Linked DNA regions of Homo sapiens: region 2 is linked to region 1. Evidence: promoter capture Hi-C in 16 types of primary human blood cells and fetal thymus (Javierre and others, 2016). All regions are on one chromosome and are shown on one strand. The core of a region is centred on a gene start or on the middle of the fragment in contact, and the rest is flanking DNA. Distances in the headings are between cores, read along the strand shown. Region 1 holds the start of NRP2 (neuropilin 2). Region 2 holds the start of PARD3B (par-3 family cell polarity regulator beta).

Region 1 (4,143 bases), core at 1,398-3,897:
TGGCAGAGCGGGAGTGGGTCCAAGCGGGTGTCGCGCACACACGTACACACACTCCAAGCAGCGCTCGGGGACAGATGTGCGAACATCTGGGGTAGGAGATGGCCCCTGAGTCTTCACGACCCCTCCCGCTCCGCACAGCACACGGAACCTGAAGTTGCATGTGTGTGCGCGCCAGTGTGAGTGCCAGTGTGTGCGCGCTCGCGCGCTGGGGCCTACTGGAGTCCGTGTCTGAATACATAATATACTGTGGGCATCCTCACGGCGCGCGCGCGTGTGCACACACACACAGCGAATCACACAAACATACATAATTTACGCAGCATCCAGGTCTGTGAGTGGTAATTTAATTCCGCTTCAAGCTGGGAATTTAGAAATAAGGCAAGGGGGAACGGCGGAGGCCCAGAAAATCTCCCCAAGTGGGACCCCCACCCATCCCTTTGGCAGGATTTGCAGCTGCCCTGAAGACCACTTATGGCAAAGAAAGAGCTGCAAACGTGCGGATCTGGGTGGCAAAGGCATTCCTGAATTTTCTTCCCCCCTCAAATAAATGCCCAAGCTTAAAGTGGTGTGTGTGCTGGTGGGGGGCGTGAGGAGAAGGAAGGGTGACAGTACCAGATGCAAGGCTAGGATCCACTAGCTGATGTTCTGGGGATGCCAAGGAGGCTGCAGAGTTAGCTCTACCACTGCCGCCATCGCCTTGCAAGTGCCTTGGGTGAGGGCACTTCAGGAAGGCTTTTTCGCCTTTCTTTCACCCATTTCCTCCATAGATGGTTTCTCCATCTCCAATCACCTGTAGCAGCTGCTAAGAGTTTTGTTGTTAGATTCCAGACACTGTTCTCAGAGGGGTAGGGAGGCTCACTCTAGAGAGTGGTCCGAGAAGGAAGCACAAACCCCACTGCATTCCCCATGGATTCCCCTTTCCAGAGCATACCCCTTGCCGCTCCCCACAAATGCGGTCCCCAGACTGTTCTGGGCCTCGAAATGCTTATCTCCACAGCAGCCTGTCCACACACCCTTTTTGGCAGTGGTTGAGAACAAATTCCACTCAAAAGTTTCTAACCACTTCACAAGAGTGAGAGACCTTCGAGGGCCTGCAATTTGTTTTAGCTAATAATAATTTCTAAAAGAACGTACGATTTACTTTCCCAGACAACACATGGATGAAGAGAGAAGAGACCAACCGTCTTGGTTGCCAGCAGCACCCAACCCCAAGCCCCTATCTCAGCCACAAGCCAACTTGCTCCACCAGCCTGAGCCTTATGATTCTGAAGCATAACCAGTCATTCTCCAAAGAATCTACAGCATCTGAAAACCAAAACTAAACTCTTGTCTTTCCCAAGCCCTTCAGTTAACATTGCTCAATGTAGCTAAGTGGAGGGAATGCAAATGATTTATATTTCACTGGCTAGTTGGAGAAACTCAAGGGAGATGTGTTCTGCTTCAAGACAGGGAAAAAAAATTCCCAAAAACTGTAATGCAAAGGCTTTGTAGTATTTTTAAACCTTTGATTCAGTCCATATGTGACATATGAACACCGCCAAATTCTGTTTCAAAACACACTCACACACACACACACACACACACACACACACTCCTAGCAGGAGAGGAAAGTTGGGTTTTAGCAGCCGTGGTGGTGTAGGAAGGGCCGGCTGGGATCTCTCTTTAAATTATTGAGTACTGAGGGAGCCTTCTTCTGTGCCGTTCTGCGTGGCCTTCCTGCTTTAGCGGTCACTTTTAAAGGGGAAACCATGTTGCAATAAATAGAAAAACTTTCAGTGGCTTACCTGGTTGGCCTCTCACTTGGTGTCTTGAAAAGTAGAGGGCTAAGAAAACCCAGGTGAGAGGAAACATATCCATTTTGGAGAAGGTGGCTCTTTCCAGAGCTGGGTTCGTAGGTTTCTTGTTTAAATCTTTGTGTTTTTCTCTCTTTTATTTTCCTCCTTACAACGTCTTATGCAGAGGTTTCTAATGGTCAGCGTTTCCCTCCTGAGTCCTGGTGGCTTGTCTTCACCTCTATTCTTGCTGGAATTTCCACCTCACCAGGAGGAGAGTAGCTCCTGAAATCAGCAAAGAGGGAACAAGCCGGGAAGAGAACACGGTTTTCCTCTTAAAAACAAAACGCATATATGTTCTCTCCAGTTCCTCAAAGTGTCATTTCCTTTATCCTACAAATATCACGAGTATTTCCCGAAAGCCAAGCGTAACAATAATGATAATAATAATAATTAAAACCAAGACTTGCCTTGGGCATCACACGGCCCCCAGGCAGCTGTGTGATCTCAGAGGCGTAAACTGACACACATCCCGCGGCACCCTTGACGGACACACGGGCGGAGGCAGCCGCCGCCGGACAGCCCGAGTGGAAGGCGGCCGCCCTGCTCTTGTCCTCGCCGGGTTCCCCCGGCGGGAGCCTCCCCCAACGGCTACACCCGCTTGGCCAGCCTCTCGAGGGGAGTCTGAGGAAGGAAGCTGCTGCTGCTGTTGCTGCTGCTGGTGCGGCGGCGGTGGCGGCTGGGATCGCCTGGGAGTGAGCGAGCCCCTCTCCGAGTTCGCTGGCGCCCGCCCTCACCTCCACCTCGCCGAGTGTCTGTGCGGCTGAGGATGTGCTGGGGGCCGGCTGCAGGCTGGTGCCTCGCTCGCGATCTCTGCCTCCCCTCCGGCTCCCCACTGCCTTTTCAGGCCGAGCAGCATGTGGATGTCAGAGCCGCGGCAGAGCTATCCGATTACGCGCCGGCTCAGGGCCCGCCCCTTCTGTGTTCCTGATTAAAGAGGCAGCCGCGGAGACGCGCGGCGCAGAGCAGAGTGCCGCGGCACCCAGCTCGGGCGGGGCGGCGACGGCTTCTCTCGGGCCGCCGCAGGATCGAAGTTAAGGCGGCGCCCATCCCACCACCCCTCGCCCGCCCCGCATCTCCCGATCGCCCCCGCGCACCTCCGCGCCGGGCCGCCGGTGCGTAACGCCCTGGGGAAGAAGCGCCCCCGGGCACCCCCAGGGCGCGCCGCCTTGGCCGTGTCGCCCCCACCCAAGGGAGACCCCGGGGGGACGGGGGGAAAAGCCTTGTTCCCCCTAAATTCCACGACTCCGATGCCACACACGCAGAACCCAACACAATGCCACGCGCGATGGCGTTACAAGAGGAGTTGGGTGGCGTACGGTGTTTGGGGTAGCGAGCCGGTCGGCAGCTCAGCCATGCGTTCGAACAGGCAGCGGTGCGTGGCGGCGACACACACCGTCAGCCCGGTCTGAATAAAACCCCAAACACTCGCTGCGTTTACTACTCAGATCCTTTGTTATGTCCCAAACATGCTCTGCTCCTCTCTGGGTTAGGATTTCGTTACCCCTGCGCCTTTAACTGTAACTACCCTAAAAAGAGGAAAGACTTTCTTCAGCAAATAATTTCTTCAGGTAATTAAATTGGATTCCATCAAGTTCCCCCGAAAAAGTATAGGTGCTTGAAGGCGTCTCATCCAAATGCTACTGTAACTACGTCTATTCACATTTTCCCCCATGGAAACGTGGTCACAAAGCCTAGAGAAAGAAAACATCATTATGCCAACTATTTTTAAATGGAGGCGTGAAAACTGTTTAGAGGGAACTGCAAGCTAACAGTTGGGGAAACACTTGTATCTTTGTTTCTGAGGATGGCTTTGTGGATTCCAAACTGTCTTGCTTCACCAGACACCTATTACTACATTATCATAAAGACTGCAACAGAAACAGCCTAAATTACACCCTGCACATGTACACCTTTTCTGCCACAAAAGAGGTATATGAAAAATAAGAAAATTCAGAAAAATATTTACAGATTAAGATTTTTTTTAAATTAAGAAAGTAAAATTTTCTGTAGATTAAGAAAAATACAGTTTCGGTGACGAGAAACACACACCTGACTACCCATTTTCTTCTTGGCTTGTACTTGTGGATTCTTCTGGGTGGTTTCCCTCCTTATCTGGACTTGCCCATTAGCTTTATCACTTTTAGTGTTTGAAAAATCTGTAACTCCCACTTAACTGTTATTTACACTGAGATAACCAAAACAAAATTGAATCAGAAGTGATTTGCAAATAGTTGAGCCAAGCTGTGTTGGGGGGTGGCGCGGGATTTTAGAGTGGAAATCCACAGGCTGAGTATCACACTGTTAATCT
Region 2 (3,799 bases), core at 537-3,036, 1.1 Mb after region 1:
TTCATGGAGGCAAAGAAGGTGCAAGTATTTTCTTAAACCCCTAAGCTATACACTTGTAAGAAACAATTACTTTTATGCTTTGGATAACCGATAAGAAGTTAAAAGAAATTAAAACTTACGTTTTTCCATCACTAGATTGACCAACCCACTATTTTAGTCACATGGCACGAGACCAAATATTAAGAGAACCATTGGCCGCTAAAACAAGAATTTGTGACTTGCCCTGTTTGAGGAGCATTTGGGACATACAAAATGTTCCATGTGAAGATTCAAAAAATTAAAAGGTTATTCAATGCCTTCCTTTAAAAGTTTCACTGAGGAAGTCCCAGAGGCCCAATGTTACCCAAATACTTGGCATAAGTTCTAGTGCCAGATATTTTCTCAACATGTATTGCACACTTAAAAAAAATTGTCACTTAATTTATACTTGTTCCTGACTTCAGCTACAGAGCTAGGAACGTCTTTCTCATTTTAATAGTCACTCAGGACCTGACAACAGCCCACACACATAGTAAATGGTCATAGAATCTGTGACATTAAACTGAAAACACTCAAAATGTAGACAGGTTGGCTAAGCAAACAGCATGCTCCCACCTGTGTTCCTGCCCAAGTCACTGAGACAGGGCAGCTCACAAGGCTGAAACTCCAAAGGCCCCATCAGTTGTAACTTCCGAGTATGTGTCACTTGCACAATCAACTTTCTAACTCCAAGGAGCCTAAGTGAGGCGGGCCTTAATGGGTCAAAAATCACACTTAGGTGAGCAGCACCTTTTAAGACGTTCCCTCAAACAAGTTCTAAACCAGTGGTTCTCAAACTTCAGTGGGCATTCCAATCACCTGGGGATCTCGTTAAAGAGCAGATCCTGAGTCGGTGGGTTTGGAGAACTGCCCATATTGGGCAGTTCTAAGAAGCTCCCAAGAGATTCCAATGCTGCAGGTCCACTCACGACCCTCGGAGCTCAAGGCCCACAAACACCCAAAGACACCCACATCACTGATATTAGCAATAGACAACAGCTGCAGCTACAGGCAGTGCCCCATAATCCCCTGGGTTTTCTGCATCCCCTGAGTGTCGCCACCGGGTCGCACCTGGCAGGTGCCTTGGCTGCAGCCGCGCCCCACTCCTCCGCGCCGCGCTCACCTTCTCCCGGGTCTTCAGGTACCGCTGCAGCGCCTGCTGGGTGAGCTCGCCGACGCGCAGCTGGCCCTCCTTGCAGGGCACCACGATGCCCGTCCTGCCGAAGCACACGGTCACTTTCATCCTGGCCCCCGGCGACCACGCCGGGCCGGGCCGAACAGGTGTCTGACCCCGCGGGCGCAGCCCCCACTCTCGGAGGACGCCCGGGGCGGGTGGGCCCAGAGACCCGGGGCGCCGCTCCCCGGAACACCCTGAGGCCCGGAGGCTCGCGGCAGCGCCCCTTCCACCTGGCCAGGCGGCAGGTGGCGGGAATCGGGGAGGGGCGGCCGCGGAAAGGGGTTACCTCCCAGGTGCCCGGCGGCCCGGGACGCGGCAGCTCCGCGGCACCGGCTCCTCCTCCTCCTCCTCCCGCTCCTACTCCTGCCCGGCCCAGGCGGCTGCTCCGCGCCCACCAAAGCGAAACTGCCGGCCCTGCCCTGTCGCTGGTCCTGGCCCTGGCCCTGGCCCTGGCGGCGTTGGCAGGGCCGGCCCCAAGCCGGGGGCTGGAGTGGGCGGCGGCGGCGGCGGCGCACGGGGCCAGAGTTGGGAGGAAACTTTTGCGCCGGCTCCCAACTCCTCTGCGGCGCCCGCGCTCTGGGCTCCTGCGGTCCCGGCGACGGCCTGGGCCCGGCTCTTAAAGGGGCCGCGGCGCTCCCGGGCCCCGCCGCACGCTGGGCGACGACGTGCCCCGGCCCTGCGGGCCAGTAACTGGAGCCCGGGAGCCTCGTCTCGTCACCTGGGTCTCTCCCTGGCTCTCTCCCTCTCGCACGCATGCACACGGAGCTCTGGGGAGTTGTAAGGGGACCTGAGGGCTACACGCTCGAGGATTGAAACCGGATCTCAGAAAGAACACCCGAGGGAAGAGCGAGGAGACTGCAGAGCTGCGCCCTTCACAGGAGGGGACTGCAGCAAGATGCAAAAGGAGCCCAGGAGCAGGTGCTTCTAGTCACGCCCACCAAAAACACCCAAGGGGCGAGGCTGCCGGGTGCGGAGATGCAGGAGTGCCCCGAGGGCCTGTTAGGAACTCGCCTTAAGCACAGCCCGTGCCGCTGCCATCAGGAGCCCTGGGATAGCAGAGCTGAAGCGAACCTTGGAGAGAACGCGCCAGTGGAAACTTTTCCTTTTACAGACCCTCGAGGACACTGAGTATTTGGCCAAAGGTCACACCCAAGACCCAGATATGATCGCGTGTGTTGACACATAGCCTTCTGGAATGCGACTACCGTTGTGCATTTTATTAGGAAAAAAAAAAGTTAACACCCTTAGGCTCATGATTTGGCAGGTGTGTATCCATCACCAATTGAAATGGGAATATGTGGGGGAAACCAACAAATTACGTTAGTTTCATTCTTAGCTCTCATGTAAATGAGCTCCTTTGAGCTTAACAACTACCCGGTAGGTAGATATTATTCTTCGCATCTTGTGCATCAAGAATGGTGCTCGGAGAGGTCAAGAGACTGAGCAGACCATGGTGTTAGTTCTGTTGAAAAGAACTCAGGTCTTCTGAGCTCAATCTCTGGTCTCTCCCTGCAGTTTTCTTAGCCATCCAGTTCATCCAGCAAGACCCTCAGGGCTGCATCATGTGTTTCTCTACAGAAGGATGTGCTCCTATGTGGACACACTTAAATTGAACGTGAATTGCCTAGGATGGTATGATAATGCAGAGGAGATTAAATTCATGGGTTTCAAGAGGTTTTTTAAAAAAATAAATTTTAGCTCATTCATACATTCAGTAAGTATATATTGGTTGTCTTCTATGTATAGAAAGTCAGTGGCAAACCAAGAGGATCACGTAAACCAAGTCCATTGTAATTTGGTTGTAAATCCAATACAAACTAATTTACATTTAAATAAACCAAAGACAGAATTGATCACCTCATAAAATCAGAAGATCCAGAGGGCACTCCATTGAGGCAAGGTTGAAAGCAGGAACTCAAACTATGTCCTCAGGGGCCAGCTAGCTCTGTCCAGCTCTTAGCTCTATCTGTTCCTCAGTGTGGTCTCCATTCTCAGGCCAGCTCTCTTCAAAGGAGACACTTTATCCTCTTTTTAGAGATGAGGAGCTGAGGCCAAAGGAAGTTAAATGATTTAGTTAAAATCTCATTCTTAGAAAGTAGCAGAGGCTGGCTTAAAACCCAGGTCATCTGATTCCAGAGTCTTCATCGTAACTGCTGTGCTGTTTCTTACATGAGAAGTACCAATGAGTGAATCAAACAAACAAATAGATACTGATGCCGTGCATTAATGTGTGGCCCTCACTTTTAATATTCGGTATTTCATGGACCTATAGAATGGTACAGAGCAAAGATTTTCCACTGATGAAATAACTTTGCATGTTGCCATCCTTCCTGCATCGTGGCTTTTTGCTTTACAGTTGCTCCAGACTCATTTTCTTCTGCTTGGGTCATGAATAGCTCCTCCTCTTCGCCACAAATTCCCTCTTAGCCCAGCTTTAGCTCCTTCCCAATATCTAGAACCTCCCACCCCAAGTCCTGGCTTTGATAATCCCCAAGTGAACCATAAAGAACACTCCGGCTCTCCCAGTTCCACTTGGGAAGTTGGAATCGGGACCTAGGGGATGCAGCAGAGGCCATGCCATTGTGAGATGAAGGAAGAGATGAC

The links. Contacts are between HindIII fragments. The CHiCAGO score rates a contact against its expected background, and 5 or more counts as called.
Region 2: the fragment with the promoter of PARD3B here is called in contact with the fragment with the promoter of NRP2 in region 1 in 4 of 17 cell types (total CD4 T cells, endothelial precursors, non-activated CD4 T cells and 1 more); the score reaches 6.3 in total CD4 T cells.

What each region holds. Positions count from the first base shown.
Region 1 is chr2:205,681,005-205,685,147 of GRCh38, reverse strand. NRP2 (neuropilin 2) reads right to left here and starts at 2,647. Exons shown (of 17, transcript NM_003872.3): 1 at 1,785-2,647. The coding sequence starts at 1,857. RefSeq lists an enhancer at 22-652 and a silencer at 3,127-3,246. The HindIII fragment of the contact is 6,030 bases long and covers 559-4,143 here.
Region 2 is chr2:204,543,462-204,547,260 of GRCh38, reverse strand. It overlaps PARD3B (par-3 family cell polarity regulator beta), which reads right to left and starts at 1,786. Exons shown (of 23, transcript NM_001302769.2): 1 at 1,142-1,786. The coding sequence starts at 1,261. RefSeq lists a silencer at 1,750-1,799. The HindIII fragment of the contact is 7,233 bases long and covers 1-3,799 here.